2 separate regions of the Homo sapiens genome follow, and region 1 is linked to region 2. The links are contacts of gene promoters, found by promoter capture Hi-C in blood cells and fetal thymus (Javierre and others, 2016). All regions are on one chromosome and are shown on one strand. Each heading gives the region's core, a stretch centred on a gene start or on the middle of the fragment in contact. The rest is flanking DNA. Distances are from core to core; before and after follow the strand shown. Region 1 holds the start of TREX1 (three prime repair exonuclease 1). Region 2 holds the start of CAMP (cathelicidin antimicrobial peptide).

The links. The method cuts DNA at HindIII sites, captures the fragments that hold promoters and counts their contacts. A CHiCAGO score of 5 or more calls a contact.
Region 1: a contact is called between the fragment with the promoter of TREX1 here and the fragment with the promoter of CAMP in region 2, in 6 of 17 cell types (endothelial precursors, megakaryocytes, erythroblasts and 3 more). The highest score is 8.6, in endothelial precursors.

The regions. Positions count from the first base shown.
Region 1 is chr3:48,464,479-48,467,479 of GRCh38, forward strand. TREX1 (three prime repair exonuclease 1) reads left to right here and starts at 1,752. Exons shown (of 2, transcript NM_033629.6): 1 at 1,752-1,831; 2 at 2,152-3,001. The coding sequence starts at 2,178. ATRIP (ATR interacting protein) reads left to right here. Exons shown (of 13, transcript NM_130384.3): 11 at 104-184; 12 at 353-605; 13 at 1,009-3,001. The coding sequence ends at 1,076. It overlaps ATRIP-TREX1 (ATRIP-TREX1 readthrough), which reads left to right. Exons shown (of 15, transcript NR_153405.1): 12 at 104-184; 13 at 353-605; 14 at 1,009-1,831; 15 at 2,152-3,001. RefSeq lists enhancers at 978-1,067, 1,680-2,561, 2,148-2,347, 2,562-3,001. The HindIII fragment of the contact is 3,980 bases long and covers 123-3,001 here.
Region 2 is chr3:48,220,055-48,225,010 of GRCh38, forward strand. CAMP (cathelicidin antimicrobial peptide) reads left to right here and starts at 3,441. Exons shown (of 4, transcript NM_004345.5): 1 at 3,441-3,658; 2 at 4,300-4,407; 3 at 4,549-4,620. The coding sequence starts at 3,458. RefSeq lists enhancers at 2,786-2,905, 2,926-3,055, 3,066-3,115 and a silencer at 3,125-3,419. The HindIII fragment of the contact is 1,963 bases long and covers 2,944-4,906 here.

The sequences.
Region 1 (3,001 bases), core at 502-3,001, 240 kb after region 2:
AAACAGTTGCTGAAGCAAGTGAACTCTTATAGAAGCTTAAGAAAACCCTCGCAGGGACTGGTCTCCTTCTGCCCAGGATGGAACCAATCTGTTCTTGTTCTAGGTGGTGTGGCTCCTGGCTAAGCTTGGTGTGCAGAGCCCCTTGCCCCCAGTCACTGGCTCCAACTGCCAGTGTAATGTGGAGGTGAGTGGGTAGGGGCCAACAGCTGGCAGCTCTGGTGGTAAGGGGGCCCCGTGCAAGGACTGTAGGCCCCACTGCAAACCCCCTCACGTGAGGTGGCTAGGCTGAGCGGATTGTTAGGGTGCAGGCCATGGTGGCACCAGGCCTCAGTCTGCACCCCCCCTCTCTCAGGTGGTCAGAGCGCTCACGGTGATGTTGCACAGACAGTGGCTGACAGTGCGGAGGGCAGGGGGACCCCCAAGGACCGACCAGCAGAGGCGGACAGTGCGCTGTCTGCGGGACACGGTGCTGCTGCTGCACGGCCTATCGCAGAAGGACAAGCTCTTCATGATGCACTGCGTGGAGGTCCTGCATCAGTTTGACCAGGTGATGCCGGGGGTCAGCATGCTCATCCGAGGGCTTCCTGATGTGACGGACTGTGAAGGTAAGCCTGCCAGAGGCCATCCTGCCCAGCCCCCATGGCTTCTTCCAGAGGTTCCCCAACAAGTCAGATTCCTGGGTGTCCCCTCAGCAGGCCCCCGCCCACTGCAGCCTGTTCCAGCACTGGGGCCATTTTCTTTTATCTTCCTGCCTCAGTTCTTCTCCAAGCATATTGGGATGCCTTTTGCATCTATCTGTTGAGTGTGCCTGGCAGAGCCACGGTTTTTCCAGAAATAGCCGTGTCTGAATTGCCTTTGTATCACTTTGTTTGCAGTAGCTGAGGGAGCAGGGCCTGGGTGTGGAAGGGACTGGTTAGTTCCTGCGGACGTTGGGGGAGGAGAGGTGGGACCTGCCCTAGGCCCTGGCACCTTTGGGCCCTCACCAGGAACCTCTCCTTTTTGTCTCAGAGGCAGCCCTGGATGACCTCTGTGCCGCGGAAACCGATGTGGAAGACCCCGAGGTGGAGTGTGGCTGAGGCCCTGAGTGTCCAGCCACATGGTGGCACCAGCACCACTCCTTTCCTTACCACATCAACTGATTAAAGCAGTGACCAGCAGGAACTGCCCAGAGAACTGGCTGGCCTTGTTTCCTGAGTCTGATCTGTTTGGCGGAGTGGGAGGGGTGGAGCAGGACCCGGACCCTGAGTGGCTGGGATCCTTCTTCCTGTCCCTGGCTGTTGCTGAGCCCGTCCCCATGGTAACTGATCTGCCTTGAGGAAGGAGCCCTGCCCTGCCTGTGGAATTGTCCTGAGTCATTGCTTTGGGCTGGGGCCATGGGAAGAAACCATTGTGTGGCAGGGAAGGAGGTGGCTCTTGGCCCAGGCCTAAACCAGGAAAGCCTGGGAAACTGGGACCCACAGGTGGGCATGAAAGGGCCGCAGCAGGGGCTCCCAGCAGTGTGTAAGACCGGGAGCTGGTCTGGCACCACTGCCCTGGTCCTTCCAGCTGCCTGTCACTGGTATGATGGCCCCGGTGCATTGTGCCACCAGCAGGCCACAGCTGTGGATCTTGGAAGGCCTCTGGGGTCCCCCGGGAGCAGGGGAGTGGGTGTGGGGGGGAACGGATGGTGGTGAGAGGGACAGACCAGGCAGGCTGACGAGCAGGGCGGGCCTGGCTCACGTGGGCCTGTAGGCGGGCCCACGCCAAGTTTCACTTCCCGCCACTGCTGCCAGCGAGAGCCGCGGGAGAGTGTGCAGCCGAGTCACTACTGCCTGCCTGCCTGCCTGCTACGGTGAGTGTGGCCCCCACAATGGGATGGCGCAGGGCAGGAGGGCCATGGGTTCCCCCACCCCAGACTAAGGGGGCACTAGGGGAGGGGCCGAGTCATGTGAAGAGGGAGACCCTCTCAGACAGTCGAATGTGCTGGTCCCACTAAGGAAACCACCTCACCCTCTCCAACTTCCTGCCTGAAAATGGGCCCTGGAGCTCGCAGACAGGGCAGGATTGTGCAGGGAAGGCCTGAGATGTGCTTCTGCCCACCCCCTACCCCACTCCCTCCCCTTCGGATCTTAACACTGGGCACTCACACACCCACCCCATGCTCCTCTCCAGGCTCAGCAGCAGGTACGTACCCAACCATGGGCTCGCAGGCCCTGCCCCCGGGGCCCATGCAGACCCTCATCTTTTTCGACATGGAGGCCACTGGCTTGCCCTTCTCCCAGCCCAAGGTCACGGAGCTGTGCCTGCTGGCTGTCCACAGATGTGCCCTGGAGAGCCCCCCCACCTCTCAGGGGCCACCTCCCACAGTTCCTCCACCACCGCGTGTGGTAGACAAGCTCTCCCTGTGTGTGGCTCCGGGGAAGGCCTGCAGCCCTGCAGCCAGCGAGATCACAGGTCTGAGCACAGCTGTGCTGGCAGCGCATGGGCGTCAATGTTTTGATGACAACCTGGCCAACCTGCTCCTAGCCTTCCTGCGGCGCCAGCCACAGCCCTGGTGCCTGGTGGCACACAATGGTGACCGCTACGACTTCCCCCTGCTCCAAGCAGAGCTGGCTATGCTGGGCCTCACCAGTGCTCTGGATGGTGCCTTCTGTGTGGATAGCATCACTGCGCTGAAGGCCCTGGAGCGAGCAAGCAGCCCCTCAGAACACGGCCCAAGGAAGAGCTATAGCCTAGGCAGCATCTACACTCGCCTGTATGGGCAGTCCCCTCCAGACTCGCACACGGCTGAGGGTGATGTCCTGGCCCTGCTCAGCATCTGTCAGTGGAGACCACAGGCCCTGCTGCGGTGGGTGGATGCTCACGCCAGGCCTTTCGGCACCATCAGGCCCATGTATGGGGTCACAGCCTCTGCTAGGACCAAGCCAAGACCATCTGCTGTCACAACCACTGCACACCTGGCCACAACCAGGAACACTAGTCCCAGCCTTGGAGAGAGCAGGGGTACCAAGGATCTTCCTCC
Region 2 (4,956 bases), core at 2,191-4,690:
ATTGTGGAGTGGGAGAGGGTAGCTCCAGCATCTGCTCATCTGTGGAAAGTCTCTCAGAGCCTTCAGCAGTCCCAGTGCACCAGGTTCCCTGATCACATTGTGTAGGAGTTGGAGCCTCCTGGGTCTGCAGGAGAGGAAGGGGCCACTTAGAGAAGTCAGGGTGGGAGATTCAGAGAGAGAGAGGAAAGAGAGAGAGATAGAGAGACAGAGGGACAGGGGCTGCCCAGGCCTTTGTGAAGGGACATTTATCTAGCCCTCAAGTCTTGATGTGGAAAAGCCTAACTTTTTTTTTTTTTTTGAGACGGAGTCTTACACTCTTGCCCAGGCTGGAGTGCAGTGGCGCCATCTCAGCTCACTGCAAGCTCCGCCTCCTGGGTTCACACCATTCTCCTGCCTCAGCCTCCCAAGTAGCTGGGACTACAGGCGCATGCCACCACACCCAGCTAGAGACGGGGTTTCACTGTGTTAGCCAGGATGGTCTCAATCTCCTGACCTCATGATCAGGCCACCTCGGCCTTCCAAAGTGCTGGGATTACGGGCGTGAGCCACCGCGCCCGGCTAAGCCTCACTTTTCTTTTCTCATTCCGCCTTGCCTAGAATCTTCTGATCACTCTATTAATGGGGTGAGCCATTATGAAAAAGGCGAGCTGGTGAGAGCCTCCTTTCTCCCTCTCTAGGAGGAAGGGGCAGCCATGGGTTCTAAAGGTCTGAAGTCAGCCGCCCTACCTCAGGTAGTGGACACCGACCTGCATGTGCCGAGGGCAGGACTCACTCCTGGAACCTGGGAAGCCTGGACCTTGTGCGATGGCCCTGAGAGGGAAAGCAAGTGCCCCTGAGTCCAGACTTCTGCAGTTGTATCAGAGGGCCTATGCAAGCTGCTTGGGCTCTGGCTGATTTCATGTGAGGGCGTGTCCAGCACTGGCCGAAGTGGAACGTCCTCTTGAGGCAGTTGGAAAGGGGCTCTGAATATGCCAGATCTGACCTAGAGGAACACAGGAGCATGCAGCTCTCACGCCCTAGCCTAAGGACTAACATTGCCATCTGCTTCTCCCCGGTTTGGCTTCTTGGGGATCCTGAAGCCAGTCAGAAGGGTGGAGGAAGCAGGAGAGCCCTGAGAGGTCTGATATCCCTGGATGGCCCTTTTCCCAACAGCCATAAAAGACCTGATGTGCAAGCCCTGCTTGACCAACAGGCCACTGGGGCAACACTTGAACTGTGAAACCAGGTTGCACAGAAGCCCACTTCTTCCTTCTCTCAAGGCCAGGTGTGCAACCGGTGGCCTTCGTCCAGGCTTCCACCTTCCAGGAGCCCTGCTGTCCAAGCCCCCAAGTGTCCCACAGGCCAACTGAGGTCAAGAGGTACCCCAGGCCTCAGGGCCACATGGCCAGTCCACAGAGGAGCTGGGACCGGAATTTGCCTCATGGACGCTGGACCCCTCTATCACTTTGGCCCTTTATCTCTCCTGGCTGTGATCTCTCCCTCTCCCAACACCAGCCACCCATCCCAGCTTGGTGTCTCAGCTAGAGCACCAAACAGGGAGTAATTTGAGGTCGAATCAGGAGAGACTTCCTGGAAGATGTAGGGGCAAAGAGGAGATTGCTGTGCCTGGTTGGAGGTCAGGGAAAGCTTCATGAGGTGAAAGGGCAGGCCAAACAGAAGGATCGGGGCAGAGCTGGGAGAAAGAGCAGGAGGCTCAGATGAGCCTATGTGATGGGGGCATACGTGACAGTCTGGCACTTGCAGTGTGCAGGGCTGGGGTGAGGGCAGTGGGAACCAAAAGGCCACAGGCCCTGATGCCAGCCTAGGGGGTGTGTGGGCTCCTGAAGGTAGAGGGTTGAAATGGCCAAATTGGTGGTTTAAAGGAACCCCTGGACAACGGTGTGGAGGGTGGACTGTGGTCTGGGGAGAGCCTGAAACCTAGAGAAGGTGGAGTCTGGAGGCTGGGGCAGCATTGCATGGGAGAGAAGATGGCGGCAGGAGCCAGGCAGGGGTGGAAGGAGAGGCCAGAGGGGAGTGCTTTCGGGAGGAAGGAGCCAAAGGTGCTTCAGGGCTCATGCAGTGGGCACTCAGCAGAAGAGCAGTCAAGGAGGCCCAGTGGGGACAACCGGGACGTTCATGGGAGTCTCGAACTCAGAGATACAGACTGGGTGGTGTCTGCCTATTATAACTGGTGTCCTGGGAGAGGGCGTCCCCAGGGAAACCCGAGGCCAGGGAAGAGAAGCAGCCCAGGAGGTGACCCCACACGCTCTCAATATTAAGAAGACAGCCCTTAGGGGAGACCAAGAAGGAGCCACCAGGGAGGCAGGAGGGACAGCAGGAGAGTGGCATCAGGGGAGACCGGGGCAGCAAGAAGGAAGGCTCACCAGTGCCTGTGCAGACAAAGACCAGGCTTGAGGGTGGCCATGGACCAAGGGTGGGTTGGCCAGCCTTCAGTGGCCTTCAGCATGAAGAAGAGTGAAAAGATGGGGTCAAGAAGCGTAGACAACCTTTCCTAAGACTTGGCTTGGGAGAAGCCATGGTGAAAGGCCATGTCTGGAGGGGCTTGGGAACATTTTGAGACTGAAAAAAACAGTGAAGAAGGATGCAGAAGGGGATAGATGGAGCAGAGCCTTCGTCTGGCTGACGGCTGGGTCCAGAGAGCATGTGGTATGGCCTTGAACTGAAAGGGCAACTTGTCCCTTGCAAGAGTGAGTCTCTAGGTTGGGGGTGGCTACTGTCTTCATTTACCAGTTCTTTTTTTTTTTTTTCATACTGAGTCTCACTCTGTTACCCAGGCTGGAGTGCAGTGGCATGATCTCAGCTAACTGCAACTTCTGCTTCCCGGGTTCAATGGGTTCAAGTGATTCTCATGCCTCAGCTTGTAGCTGGGACTACAGGTGTGAGCCATCATGCGTGGCTAATTTTCATATTTTTAGTAGAGATGGGGTTTCACCATGTTGGCCAAGCTTGTCTCGAACTCCTTATCTCAGGTGATCCGCCCACCTTGGCCTCCCAAAGTGCTGGGATTATAGGCGTGAGCCACCGTGCCCTGCCTCATTCATCAATTCTTAATCGATGCCTACAGGGTGCCAGGCAATGCCTAGAGCTGGAGATTTAGCAGTCCATCATACTGACTCCTGAGGAGTAGAAGGATGTAGAATAGGCACCTGGCTCTCTTCCTCTCTGGAGGGATTTAACGCTCTTGAGCACCCCTGGCTATGACAATCTCCGGTCAGGTCTGGGAGGTTGTCAGAGATGAAGAAACCACTTCCTCATCTTGCACACAAGGAAGGCCTCACTCACTGCCCAGCAAGTCCTGTGAAGCAATAGCCAGGGGCTAAAGCAAACCCCAGCCCACACCCTGGCAGGCAGCCAGGGATGGGTGGATCAGGAAGGCTCCTGGTTGGGCTTTTGCATCAGGCTCAGGCTGGGCATAAAGGAGGCTCCTGTGGGCTAGAGGGAGGCAGACATGGGGACCATGAAGACCCAAAGGGATGGCCACTCCCTGGGGCGGTGGTCACTGGTGCTCCTGCTGCTGGGCCTGGTGATGCCTCTGGCCATCATTGCCCAGGTCCTCAGCTACAAGGAAGCTGTGCTTCGTGCTATAGATGGCATCAACCAGCGGTCCTCGGATGCTAACCTCTACCGCCTCCTGGACCTGGACCCCAGGCCCACGATGGTGAGCTTTGGGGGACATTCTGCTCTGCTCTGGCTGGGCTTGGCCACGTGTTGTTCCTTCTGCTCCTGCTGCACTGCCTGCCAGGAGGGCATCTCCCCCTTTAAATGTGGTCCCGTGTTTTCCAGGGAACCTTCTAGAGCTCGTGTCTCCTCCCAGCTCGAGAGCTTCCTGCCTTATAATTCCTGCTGTGGCAGAGATACCCTCACCCCGACCCCACGCAGGTTTTGGGACTTCTGCGAGCTCCAGGCACTAGAATGGGGTCATTGGCTCTGGGCAGTGACCTCCTCTGCTTTAAGTCTCTTCTGTACCACGTTACCCCACATAGGGAAGAACTCTATCCAGACTTTAGGTTCCAGTGGGCATGTCTTGTCCCCCAGGAAGCCCCCTGACTTCCCTTGCCCCCACCCCAGAGTGGGAGGGGCTCCTTGTTAGAGCTCATCTGAGGTCTGCTCCTACTCACTGTTCACCTAGGAGGGTAGGAATGGCTCAGTCCTCCTCCCCTCAATGCCCCAGTGCCAAGCCCAGCACCCAGTGCCCGTCGCACATCAGGTACTGTGGAAAGCCTGCCCTCTTGGTGGGGAGGTCATGGACACAAATCAGAAAATACAAGAATGGGCCTCCCCATTTCCTCCTCTGACTAGGATGGGGACCCAGACACGCCAAAGCCTGTGAGCTTCACAGTGAAGGAGACAGTGTGCCCCAGGACGACACAGCAGTCACCAGAGGATTGTGACTTCAAGAAGGACGGGGTGAGGCTGGGGGCTGGGGGTGTTGGTGGGTGCCTCCCAAGGAGCTGAACAGGGGGCACCTGGGGAATATTTCCCACTGGGATGTGGCTGGGAGGTCATGGCAAATGGTTTCAAGTTTGACCTTGAGCTTCTCCTTTCCAGCTGGTGAAGCGGTGTATGGGGACAGTGACCCTCAACCAGGCCAGGGGCTCCTTTGACATCAGTTGTGATAAGGTGAGTGGGCTGTTCTGGGATGCAGGGGCTGATGGGGGCATAGAGTGTGGACCATCCAATGGGTCAATTAACTACTCCCCCAACCCAGGACAGAGAAAGCCCCTCCTACCCAGGGCTCTTCCCCAAACCTGAGTTCCATCTCCAGGGCCGGCTCTGGAATCCCTTAGAGCGGTAGATCTCCAAGTGTAGCCCTTCCTGGGGACTCGTTAGATATGCAAATTCTCAGGCCCTACTCAGACCTACTCAGACAGACTCTGGGTAGGGCCCAGAAATTCGTATTTTGATAAGCTTTCCAGGAGATTCCGGCTTCTGTAAAGTTTGAGAGCCACTGTCTAA